Regions from separate parts of the Homo sapiens genome. Here region 2 is linked to region 1. The links are contacts of gene promoters, found by promoter capture Hi-C in human tissues and cell types (Jung and others, 2019). All regions are on one chromosome and are shown on one strand. Each heading gives the region's core, a stretch centred on a gene start or on the middle of the fragment in contact. The rest is flanking DNA. Distances are from core to core; before and after follow the strand shown.

The links. Contacts are between HindIII fragments. The study calls those that stand out against the background at their distance.
Region 2: a contact is called between a fragment that was not itself captured here and the fragment with the promoter of DAOA in region 1, in 1 of the 25 tissues and cell types used here (lymphoblastoid cells).

The regions. Positions count from the first base shown.
Region 1 is chr13:105,463,609-105,469,591 of GRCh38, forward strand. DAOA (D-amino acid oxidase activator) reads left to right here and starts at 2,437. Exons shown (of 6, transcript NM_172370.5): 1 at 2,437-2,452; 2 at 2,608-2,724; 3 at 3,445-3,533. The coding sequence starts at 2,681. DAOA-AS1 (DAOA antisense RNA 1) reads right to left here. Exons shown (of 7, transcript NR_040247.1): 5 at 2,579-2,812. The HindIII fragment of the contact is 13,308 bases long and covers 1-3,858 here.
Region 2 is chr13:106,620,875-106,626,522 of GRCh38, forward strand. It overlaps ARGLU1-DT (ARGLU1 divergent transcript), which reads left to right. Exons shown (of 4, transcript NR_051977.1): 2 at 5,513-5,648. Among named protein-coding and RNA genes, the nearest start is that of ARGLU1-DT, 5.9 kb to the left of the region's middle. The HindIII fragment of the contact is 4,564 bases long and covers 611-5,174 here.

The sequences.
Region 1 (5,983 bases), core at 1,187-3,686:
TAAAGAAAAAGTAATTATAAATTTACAACATCACAAGTGAACACAACCTACTTCTCGTAGTATTTTTGGTTTGGATATATTGCTAAATAGCATCATCATTCTCTTAGACATGAGGTTGAAAATTTCTGGGTTACTGTTGACTTCTTTCTTATTCTTACTTTTTTAAGTCCTTTTGTTTATTTTTATTCTTTCTGTTATCACAGATCCTACTCATTTTTGTCCCTCTGTAACTATTATCTAAATACATTTAAGAGATTCTTAATTGTCTTTTATAATTTACCTTCTTTCCTCTCCAAGCTATTATTAATTTTGAAGCCAAAACAATCTCAATCAAAATATTTACTTCATTTTAATGATTTCTCATTGTCTAGTGTGTTGAGTTTCAGGAAGAATGCCGGTGTCCTCTCTATTCTGGCTATACCTTAAAATTACTTCAGTGATTTTTAAATACACCAGTCTCTGGACCATAACCTCGAGACTCTGATTCATTATGCAAGAGTGGACATGGGTCTTTGAATTTCTAACAAATGTTATTGTGTTTTAATTGTGCTAAGAAAACCCTGCTCTGGCAACCTAATAAAGTAGCCTGCTAATAACAGGTACTCAATAAATATTTGTGGAACAAATGAATTATTGATTCTTTGTATGAACAGTTCATTCTCAAGCAAACACCTGAACATCAACCTCTCCCACCCCACACCCCTTTTGAAATATTCTTCATAAAACTTCCTACTGTATGAAAGTATCTTCTGTGTGTGAATTTTTACAGTCTGCATCACCACATGGAATGTGAGATCCCTGAGAAAGGAGACTTTGTTTGTTTTGTTCCCCACAGTGCCTCAGTGTCTGAAATAGCACCTGGTAAATCATAGGGACTTCTGAAATACTTTCTGAATGGATAAATGAGTGGTAGGAAAAGTGTGAACATGGTAGATAAAAGAGAAGTCACCACTAGAACACCAAGTTCCTGACATACAGTTTCAAGGTCCAGCAACATAGTTGCTACGAACTAGCTGCCTTTAAAGTTCTCTAGATCAACTATATAGATTAGCAAGTCTTTTAACTAAGCATTAAGCAGAGTACTGCTCTGAGATTTAGCACCTCAGTCTTTTAGGTCCCTAAAGACTCCGGATTGGTTCCAGAGGTGGACTGTCAAATAGGAGGACTTTCTGCAGTAATGGAAATGGTCTATGTCAGTGCTGTCCAACATGGTAGCCAAGTGTGTGTGGTTATTGAGTACTTGAAATATGGCTAGTGGCACTGAGGAACTAAAGTTTTAATTTTAATTAGTTTAAGTAGCCTTAGGTTGCTAGGGGTTACCATATTGGATATTGCAGTTCTAGAGTTATTCTTCTCTCCTCATATTCAAAATTATCTTATGATGCTATCATAATTGAAAGATTAGCCAGGGACCCTATCATGGCTATGGCAGTCATGTCCTGTGAAAAATTCCATTAATGACCTCCACGTTTTATGATGTGTAGAGCAAAATCTCAGTCTCCCTGAGTAAGGCCTGCTCCATGTGGACACCTGGCTTTCTCCCTTGTCTACCTCCCTCAGTGGAGAGTCCACCTGCTGGTAGTGCACTCCTTAGGTGCCTGTCTCTGGCTGTCCTGTGCCACCTGCACAGAGTCATGCATGAGCTCCACTGTGGGAAGTCTCTAGAGATGAGCTGAGCTTACCCTACACCAACTGAAAGAGTCTATCTAAGTCCTGAAGATCACAAGTCATCCTCATATTCCCATGAATGTGAATGGAAGTTGGGCCTGCTCAGAGAATCATCAGGGCTCTTTATTGTGGCCTGGAGCCAACTGCCAAGGAGTGCCTAGGAACACACTCAGTAAGAGTGTTGCCCTCAGGCCAGATCAGACTTGAACCTGCAGAGAAATCCCCTAGGTATGTCAGCAATTGCTCATTTGGATGCTATAAACTTGAAGTTGTGAAAAATATAAAGACTTACATTATCCAGTCTCTCCTGGCAAAATATGTAGGTTTAATCATTCCTGAATTTTCCTTAGTTCACACAGATATACAAATATATATCCTAAAAATTGGCATTGGTAGGCGTGTCAAGTTATCATTTTAAAAACATAGAAACCTGAACAAGATGTATCACTCCAGTCTAGAATGTCTATATGCAGAGTATCCACAAAAAACCAAACTTCAACAGTCTTTCATGTCTATATTTCTTCAACATTCTTTGTCTTCAACATTCTTTCATGTCTAGAATGTCTATATGCAGAGTATCCACAAAAGACCCAAACTTCTTTCATTTAAAGAACCAAACTTCTTTAAATAAAAATGACTCACAATAATTTAATATTTTACCATTTACAAAGAGATTAACTACAACAATATTGATCTTGAGTTAATTTCCCACGAATAACATTTTCATTTCTTAAAATTTGCTGAATGGAAAGCCAGAAAGTAGAGTGAAGCAAGTAATGTGTGTGTGAGTAGTCATTGGATACATACATAACAGTGAGCAAGTTTATCAGCTCCTGCATGGCAGTGTTCTGATGATCTTTTGCTGCAAAAGAGCTACACCCCAAATTAGTGGCTTAAAGTAAAAGCTTACTAGTGTATATGATGATTCTGTTGGTCCAGGATTTGGAAAGGGCATGGCAGGAGGTCTCATCTCTGCTTCACAATGCCGATGATTTAGCTGGGAGGACCCAAAATGCTGGAAAAGCTGATGGGTGCTGATTCTCTCCAGCTTTTCAGGTAGGTAGCTTGGGGTTTTTTACAGCATGGCGGCCTCAGTGCAATGTGACATTTGCATGGCAGCACAGAGCTCCCAGGGTGAATGTTCCTGGAGACAGGAAGTGGAACATGTCAGGGTTGGAAGCCTGAGCCCAGTATATGGTTCAGCCTTACTTTCTCCCATATTCTGTCAGTCAAAGGAGAACCTAGCCAAGGATCACTCATGTTAATGAGGAGGAGACATAGGCCCTCACCTATCCCTGGGAGGAGGATCAAAGAGTTTGAATCTTTAATCCACAGCAGGCAGACAGCTTTCCATTGTTATAAACCACCTCCCCCTCACTCCATCTGCCTGTGCTAATTGTTTGCTCACAGGAATTTGTTTAGCACTGTGTAGAACTGGGATAACTTTGTGCTTATTTTGCAGTTAAAAGGGAGAGGCGCTAGTTTGGAGATTTTTAAAAAGCAAAGGTTTGAGAGCCAGTAAGACCTGGAGTGAACTCTCCTGTCAGCTATTTACCAACTGTATGACTGAGCAATTTATAAAAAAAAAATGCAAACCTCAATATCTTCATCTATAAAAATAAAAAAATAAGACGTATTTGGCTGAATAGTTAAGATTAAAAATATGAAAGTGCTAAACCATACATGTTATATGCTCCATTGATGTTGCTTATTCTTTCTCTCTTCTGCAGGGTATAAAGGAATCTGAACACGACTGATATTTTCTTTAATTTTTAGATCCAGATATACATTGGGTAAAATCTACTTCATAGGTTTTCAAAGGAGCATTCTTCTGAGCAAATCTGAAAACTCTCTAAACTCTATTGGTATGTTACTCTTTATCTTTATATGAATTTAAATTCTTCTAGAAGTTAGATAAAACTGTGGTAAAGCTACATAATACTTTTGACATATTTTCAAGCGTAGACAAACTTCAATTAATTTGTAAGATACAGGAAGAAAATTTTTCCAGTTAAAATGTACCTCTTGGTTTCTGGAGTGTTAGCAACCATTCACACTTACAGTTCAAACAGTGCAACCTTGTAAAACATATATAACTTATGAAGAGATCGATATCTCTTTTTATAAAGCAAACAAGTAAATTTTTCCCTCAATCCATGATTTATTTTTGTGAAGTGGGAATTTAAGGCAGTAGTTCTGCTTTCAAGTGAAAACCTGGATCAACTTTTAAATATCTATAGGCGCAAACCCAAGCTAGGTCTCACACAGTGCCTCACTTAATAATCTGTCAACGTTTAATTCTTTTTCTTTTTTTTTTTTTTTTCTGGAGACAGGGTCTCACTATGTTGCCCAGGCTGGAGTGCAGCAGCGCCTCGGCCTCCCCAAGTGCTAGGATTACAGGTGTCAGCCACAACACCCAGCCCATTAATGTTTAATCCCCTAGAAGGTGATCCTTTTTTTTTTTTTTTTTTCAAAGAGACAAATTGCAGCTCCTTCTCTGGGCTTTTCTACACTATAGCAGATAACTTAAAATCTGACATGCCAAGATATAGCCTTGTCTTAGTTTTCTATCACTGCTATAACAAATAAGCACAAATTTAGTGGTGAAAAAAACAAGCACATTCATTATTTCATAGTTCTCATCAGGCTGACAGACATCTTACCTGGCTAAAAGCAAGGAATGGGCAGGGCTGCATGCCTTCTGGAGGCTCCAGGGCTGAGTCCATTCTCTTGCCTGCCCCAGCTTCTGGAGGCCTCCTGCATGCCTTGGCTCGTGGCCTGCCCTCTGTCTTTAGAGTCAGCAATGTTGCTTCTCTGACCACTCTTCTTCCAGCATCCCCCTCTCTAAGCACAGCAGGGAGACCTTCACTGATTATAAAGATGCCTGTGACTACCTTGGACCCACCAGGATAACCGAGGTCACTCTCCACCTCCCGGTCGTTAACATTAATTACATCTATGAAGTCCCTTTGTTACACAAGATTCCACAGGTTTTCAGGATTAAGAACTGGACATTTTTGGGGGGTGGAGCAAAGAAGTTTCTGCCTACCACAGCCCTTGATAGCATAATTAAAACATTGATTTTCATAAGGTTTTCCTAAACTGAATTTTATTTTGCCTCAAAGGTGCAGATGGTCAGTCTTTGAGTGCCAAGTTTAGATGCTCATCTTACTTTTAATTTCTGACCAAGATTGATGATTACTTGAATATGTTGGCTACCCAAGTAATTTTATTTACTTTTATTAAAGAGGATAATTATATTTCAATTAATAGATTCTCTTTAACAACAATTAAAAAATTACAAATGTTAGCTGAGAGTGACAGATATGAAATGAATTTAAAAAGTCTAATCAATGCCTGGTGGAATAATTTGAGAAGCAAAATAATTAGAAACAATTTTCATTGAAAGGCATGCAGTATGTTAATTTCTTCCACTTAGCCTTCAACAAAGCTAAGAATGTTGGAAGGAAAACAAGCTTATTGTCTTCTAATGATGGCCATGCCTTGGAACACTATTCCCTTCAGAGATTTGTCTCTGGTTTGTGGAATCACAGTAAAATATTATGAAAATAATTGTGGGTAAACAGGGAGAAGCCAGACATGAAAAGAAGCGAGATCTTGGAGCATATATCTATTTGCGTGCTAGTCTTGTTAGCTGTAAATAGACATGAACATGAAATGTGGGAATAGCAGAATAATTTTTCCAAGTGCATATTTTTTATCAAATCAATCTTTACTTTAAAAATTAGTGTAAAATTAAGAAGACAGCAGACATCAGTATGTTTCAGCATGTATATAAGCAGAAGTAGACAAGGCATCTACATTTTCTACAGGTAGGAGAGAGTTATCATCTCATTAGATAGTTAAGTACCATACCATAGGGTTCAATAATATTCATACTAGGCAGAACACTAAATTCAAAGTAGCTGGAGGGCAGAATTTTCCTTATGTTCTCTTATCACCATCCACACTGTCTTAACCACCTAGGTGTGTACCGTTAGTTCCTGGCTGCATTTTCTCCTCTTCAACTTGCAAATTTTTCCTGTATTAAAACTAATTCTGCTCTGTCATATTTTATTTGGGCTTTATTTTCTAATAATGACAATGAGTGTAAAAGAAATTCACATTATCCAATCCTATTTTATTTCTTTCAGGTATTCACCAAATCCACAAAAATGTAAGGCCCAAAAATAATGTACCAGTGGTGAAAATTTTAAACATTTCTGACACATAGATGAAGGGGATATATATTTTATGAAGTAATGAGCTTATTATAGGGGACTGAGTTTGATACTTTCTCTGCCTTCACATCGTT
Region 2 (5,648 bases), core at 1,643-4,142, 1.2 Mb after region 1:
GAGCAGAATGAGAAGTGTGACAGAGAGCACGGAGCACTTCAGGAGGTGGAAATGGTGTGTGATACTGTAACTCCAGCTCTTGTTGGACACAGCTTTTTAAAATTTGTATTTCATGAGTCCTAGGAAAATTCTTCTTCCCCAAATGGCAGTAGTACAGATCTGGGGCTGAAAGAAAGGCCTTCATTCTTTTTTTTTTTTTTTTTAATATGTAAAATGTTAACTCATTAAATCCTCCCTATGACATTATGAGGTAGGTGCTATTGTAACATTCACTGTGCTGATAAACTGAGACAGAAGAGAAGTTAGGTAACTTGCTCAAAGTCACTTAACAAGTAAGCAAGGGGTGCGGCTTCCACCCTAGCAATCTGGCCCCAACATGCGTGCATTTGCTTATTCTCCAGGGCTGCTCTTCTAGCTGGAGGATCTGGAGCTGGAGGTCAGAACCCGCAGCTTTCTGGCCGAAGGACATTAAGCCAGACAACTCAAACGTGTTGTATTGCTCATACTTTGGGTTTACCATGATCATGTAGGCAACACTGATTGATGATCAGTGCAACTAGGTCTGAAACAGGATATTCTTGTACTGAAGCTTAGTTTTATGCAGAATTACATCTTATCCTTCAGATTCTAAGCTTATTTCTGCACTGATAAGTTGGCATCTCGGTGGCCTCAGTTTCTGTGGGTTTTTACCCGGTTGAGATGAGAATATTCCTTGCTCCCCTAATGGATTTCCATTTAATTTTCTTAAAACAAAAACAATACTGTTTTTTAAAAGAAAGTGTTTTCATGCAGTTTAAGTGTTAAAAAATCAGTTTAAAATTTTCACAGCAGCAAGAGCAGGAAGAACTCAGGTTATATGGTCTTGACCACACTTGCCGGCATACAGCGTACTTTGTCCTGGGTGGGTGCTGAAGAAAAATGGAGAACAAAACCAACTCCATGACTGAAACACAAACTCAACCTTGCACATGCAGCAAATAGGTTGAGTTAAAAGAACAATGAAAGAGAGCTCAGACTCATTCTTGTTTTAGTGACTTTTTAGGTTTATTTTTTTCCAACTGTGATTTTATCCAGAGTGTTAGTATAAACTTATGTGGTTAGAACTGTTACCAAAGGATAGGAGATCTAATTCCAGATCAACCAGTGAAAGTCGGGTAGTTTTAACCACCAACATCTGCAACAGCTAAATAAGATCCATGTTGCTTCTGTTACACAGTGTTTCCTACTGTATTTTTGAAAATGTGCTCAATTGTCACATAGTAAAAGCAAATATTGAGTAGCTTCTGAGGGACAGTGGTACTTTTAAAAAAGTGATCCCAACTCCTATGTTCTTTAGAAACAATTCAAGTAAACATATTAAATAAGATTCCAAACCTTTCACCTCTTATTACTGTTCCATCTAAAATTTCATCCATTTGGAATGAATGGGGAGATGGACAATGTCCTTGGAAAGATTGTAAGTCTAGACGGGGGTAGCTTAGTTTCATATTTTTATATAAAAAAAGCTTTTTGCTCACAAAGCCAGATGGTAGACGGAATTGCTCCACTTAATGCTGGGAGCTGTTCATGACAGAGCATGCACTGGGTATGCTGACAGAGATGAATGCTTTGGAAAAGGTTTCCACTGAACACAGAAACTTGATTTGCAAAGGAGGAGAGACTTTGTCCATTCCCTAAGTGACCAATCTTTAAGAATGGCTTTAAGAATGATGTGAGTTGAAAATTAAATCTAAAATCATAAAATAAGTAATATCTTCCTGTATACTTACACATTTGAGGGTATGATTACTATCTGGTCATTTGGCAAGAACAGTTACAAGAAATCACATCTTAAATAAACTTCTCATACACAATTTGTTGCTAAAATGCATTTGCTTAGCAGCCAAGGATTAGATTTTTGCCAGTTTGTACTAAGGATTAGCTGAGATTTGTGTTGCAAACAGAAGATTAAGGGAGCAGGCATATCATCTTCATGAACAATTCAGAATAATATTTTGTTTCAAAATTAACCAGTGTGGGATCAGCACTTCACATTATGTGTTTGTGTGCAGAAATTCATGCATATAGCATTTCTTTTTCCAGAAGTAATTAGGGGATTCAGGTAAAACCAATTATTTGTGAGCACTTTGTTATATAAAAGAGGTCCCTGTGCTGAGCCACACACTGGGAGATGGTAAATCAGTAGTTCCTTCCCGGGTATGTTATGTTTGATTATACTTATATTCTATAATATTTTGCCCTTTTCATTTTATGCTCATATTTTCATTGGTTTATGAAGTAACAGTCTCTAGATTTCATTCCAAATGGAAAGTTGGCATGAAAACTCTCAATCCAATTATTCCTATACGCATTTTGAAACAAATCATTTTGGCCCTTTTGAAAATTTTACAGGAGGTGATAAAAATAGGAAATTTCAGGTTTCAGATGTTTTATTGCATTCTTGTAGCATAATAACAGCTTCATTAAAAAGAATTCCACAATACAATGTGGACTCTGTGAGTTGTTTAAAACACTTTTGCTGGCTTTCTTTTTAAAGCTTTGTATGCAAGAAAGTTGTGTTATTTTACAGTTTATGTTTCATTTTATTTTGCTAAGCTTTGGGGAGATATTGAATTAATACTCCCCAATGCATGACTGTAGGGATTAAAGAGCCTGCCAAGTGGTACTGCTCTTGAGACTGATGACTTAGGACACTTCCAAGCTAAAATCACACCTATTCTAAGAAGTTGGAATCAGTTTCAGGGCTTATTTCAATCTCCGGAGCTAATCATCCTTCAACTTATGGGCTGTGTTAGAGGTGGACTTGGGGGAAGCTCTTCCCTAGGGCATTTTGTTCAGTCACTGGAGGAACAAGAGGAAGAAGCAAAAGTAACTCTCTCTCCCCTGAATTTGGGAAATTATTATTTCCCAGGCAACAAATTTTAGCAGGGGTAGAGGGAACCTTCAAAGCTATCTGGTACAGGTGTTCTTTCGGTCTCAAGTCTCCTTTCCAAACTCTGTCTTCCAAACAAAGCTCAAGTATCTCCAGCAAGGGGAAATTTCATCTTGGGAGGCAGAGCCTTCTGTCTGGGAACACCCCGGAGTTACAGAGCTCCTCCTGATGTGGAGCTGAGATCTGTCGTCCTGTGACTTCCACCCATTGTTCCTAGCAATATACCTCCGACACAGAAAGAACAGGCCTCTTTTTATTTCTTAACAGCAATTCAGCTCTCAGGGGAGGGCATGGGTAGAGTAGGGAGGATGGAGCTTTGTAGATGGACAGGGTCCTGTCCTCTCTGGTCCTCAGTCTCCAGTTCTGTAAGGTGCCGATTATAAAACCAGACTTCCAGCGTTGCTGGGGAGATTCCAGGAAATGTGTATGAGGCCCCTGCTGCAACTCCTGGCACCAAGCAGTGACTCCATAGCAGATGATCACTACGATTCCTATGGAAGCTGCTTAGTGATTTTCCCTGGAGTCCTCTTTCTGTAGGAGAATTGGCCTCTATTTTTTCCATCTCTTTACATGTTTTGTAGGTTGGGGTCTCCACCACTTCCAGTTAGTCAAGTCTTGCCAAGAACTATCTGCAATCCTTTTTAGACCTGATGGCTGCTAGGGAACAGAGTGGAAACCCTCCGCAGCAGCTGGTCACAGAAGCAGAATTGATGTCCTCGTCGGGTTCTCCATTCAGGGACCAAATGCTCAGCAAATGCCTAGAGAGCGAATGGCAGGCATTTCGTAGAATAGAAAGAGTAAGACAGTTTGGAGCTGAAATTCACACTCTATTATTATACTGTGAAATCCTAGTGCGCTCCTTCTGTGTCAGCCTTTGTGTCAGATACCTACATATTTATTATCTTACTCACTCCTCACATCAACTCGGTGATCTGAAGATTGTCTCTATTTTCCCTCTGAGGAAACAGAAGTTCAGAGAATGTGAGAAACCCATGGAAGGTTGGCCAAGCGCTCCTGGTAGATTTGAGATGATCTGATCAGTGAGCAAGATGATCTCAATCACCTGAAAACCAATGAGGAGAAAAATTGTGTTCATCACTGTATTAGTCAGGGTCCTCCAGAGAAACAGAACCAGCAGGAGATGTACACATTCTATATGGATATAAAAGGAGGTTTATTATGAGGAATTGGCTCACATGATTCTGGAGGCTGAGTAGTCCCAGGACCTAGCATGTGCAAGCTGGAGAACCAGGAAAGCTGGGGCTGTAATTCAGTCCCAGTCTAAAGGCCTGAGAATCTGGGAAGCTGACAGTGTGGAGCAGGGAGGTTGAGGCTTTGCAGGTAGATGGGGTCCCCTTCTCTCTGGTCCTTGGTCTCCACTTCTGTAAAGTGGTGAATATCAAACCTGACTTCCAAAGTTGCTGGGGAGACTCCAGAAAATGTGTATTAGGTACCTTGTGCAGTTCCTGGCATCTATCAGCGACTGAATGACAGATGATCATGATGCTTCCTATGGAAGGTACCTAGAGCCAGAGAAGATGAAATGAGATGTCCCAACCCAAGCAGTCAGTGATGATGCAAAAAGGGGCAAACTGCTGCTTCCTCTGCCTTTGATTCTGCTCAGGCCCTCCAGGGATTGAATGATGCCCAACCACTTGGGGAGGGCATCTCCTTTACTGAGTTCACTGGTTCAAATGCCAATCTCACCTGGAAACACCCTCACAGGCACACTCAGAAGGAAATTTAATCTTGGCACCCCATGGCCAGTCAAGGTGACCCAGAGAATTGACCATCATAGTTACTTTTAAGGCAATTCTGACATGAACTCAATTCCATCTTATGGTTTTGTTCCATGAACAAAACCCAGAGAGGTAAACGTGGTTTGCAGGTGGTGGGAAATCAATGTCTCAGGCGCTCTTCACGCTGACTTGTGTAATCCTTCCCTGGAGAACTGAAGACTCCCAGCAGGGAGCTAACAGGGTTTCTTCTCTTCTTATCTCTGCTCTAGCCACTATCAGTGTGCCGGGTCCCTCTGAGAGACAAATGGGAAACTCAAAATGTAAGCCTGTATTAAAACAGATCACAGTGATGCTAGATGGCCGTACTCATCTATGTCTCCAGCAGGCCATGCACACAGGCTGCCCAAAGCCTTTCCTTTTCCATGTTGCCCCCAAGTTTTTCTTTGTGTGTATCTCGCTGTTTACATCTAGTTCTCTTGAATATTTCCCCAAGATAGCAGGTAGCTCCCCGGTCTCACAGGAGTAGTTCATAAGACAAACAGAATTACCATTTCTTGGTTAATTATCATATCTGTGGACCCTTTAAGCATTACTGTAAATGAAGATTTTCAAATCATTTGAGAAACACTAAAATTTAAAAATACAACAGAATCTTAGTGCATGGCTAAACATCTGATAATATATGCAGGGTGAGTGGTTATAAAAGAGAAAACATGCCTATGGCCAATATTTTATATAAAATAGACTCAAAAGCAATAAGTCCTAATATTAGTTTAGAAGGGATGGAGGCTGTCCAGCTCATAATAAAATTCCTCTTCTTTTCATGTTGTTTCTTTTCCAGGTCATACGAAAACAAGTATAATAATGTATTTTGCCTATAGGTGCCAAGACCTGCATTGTTTCCTTTCAGATACTTTTCTTTATTGTATTTGGGAACAAACCAGCTATAGCATGAGGAAGGGATGTCAGGTGGAGAT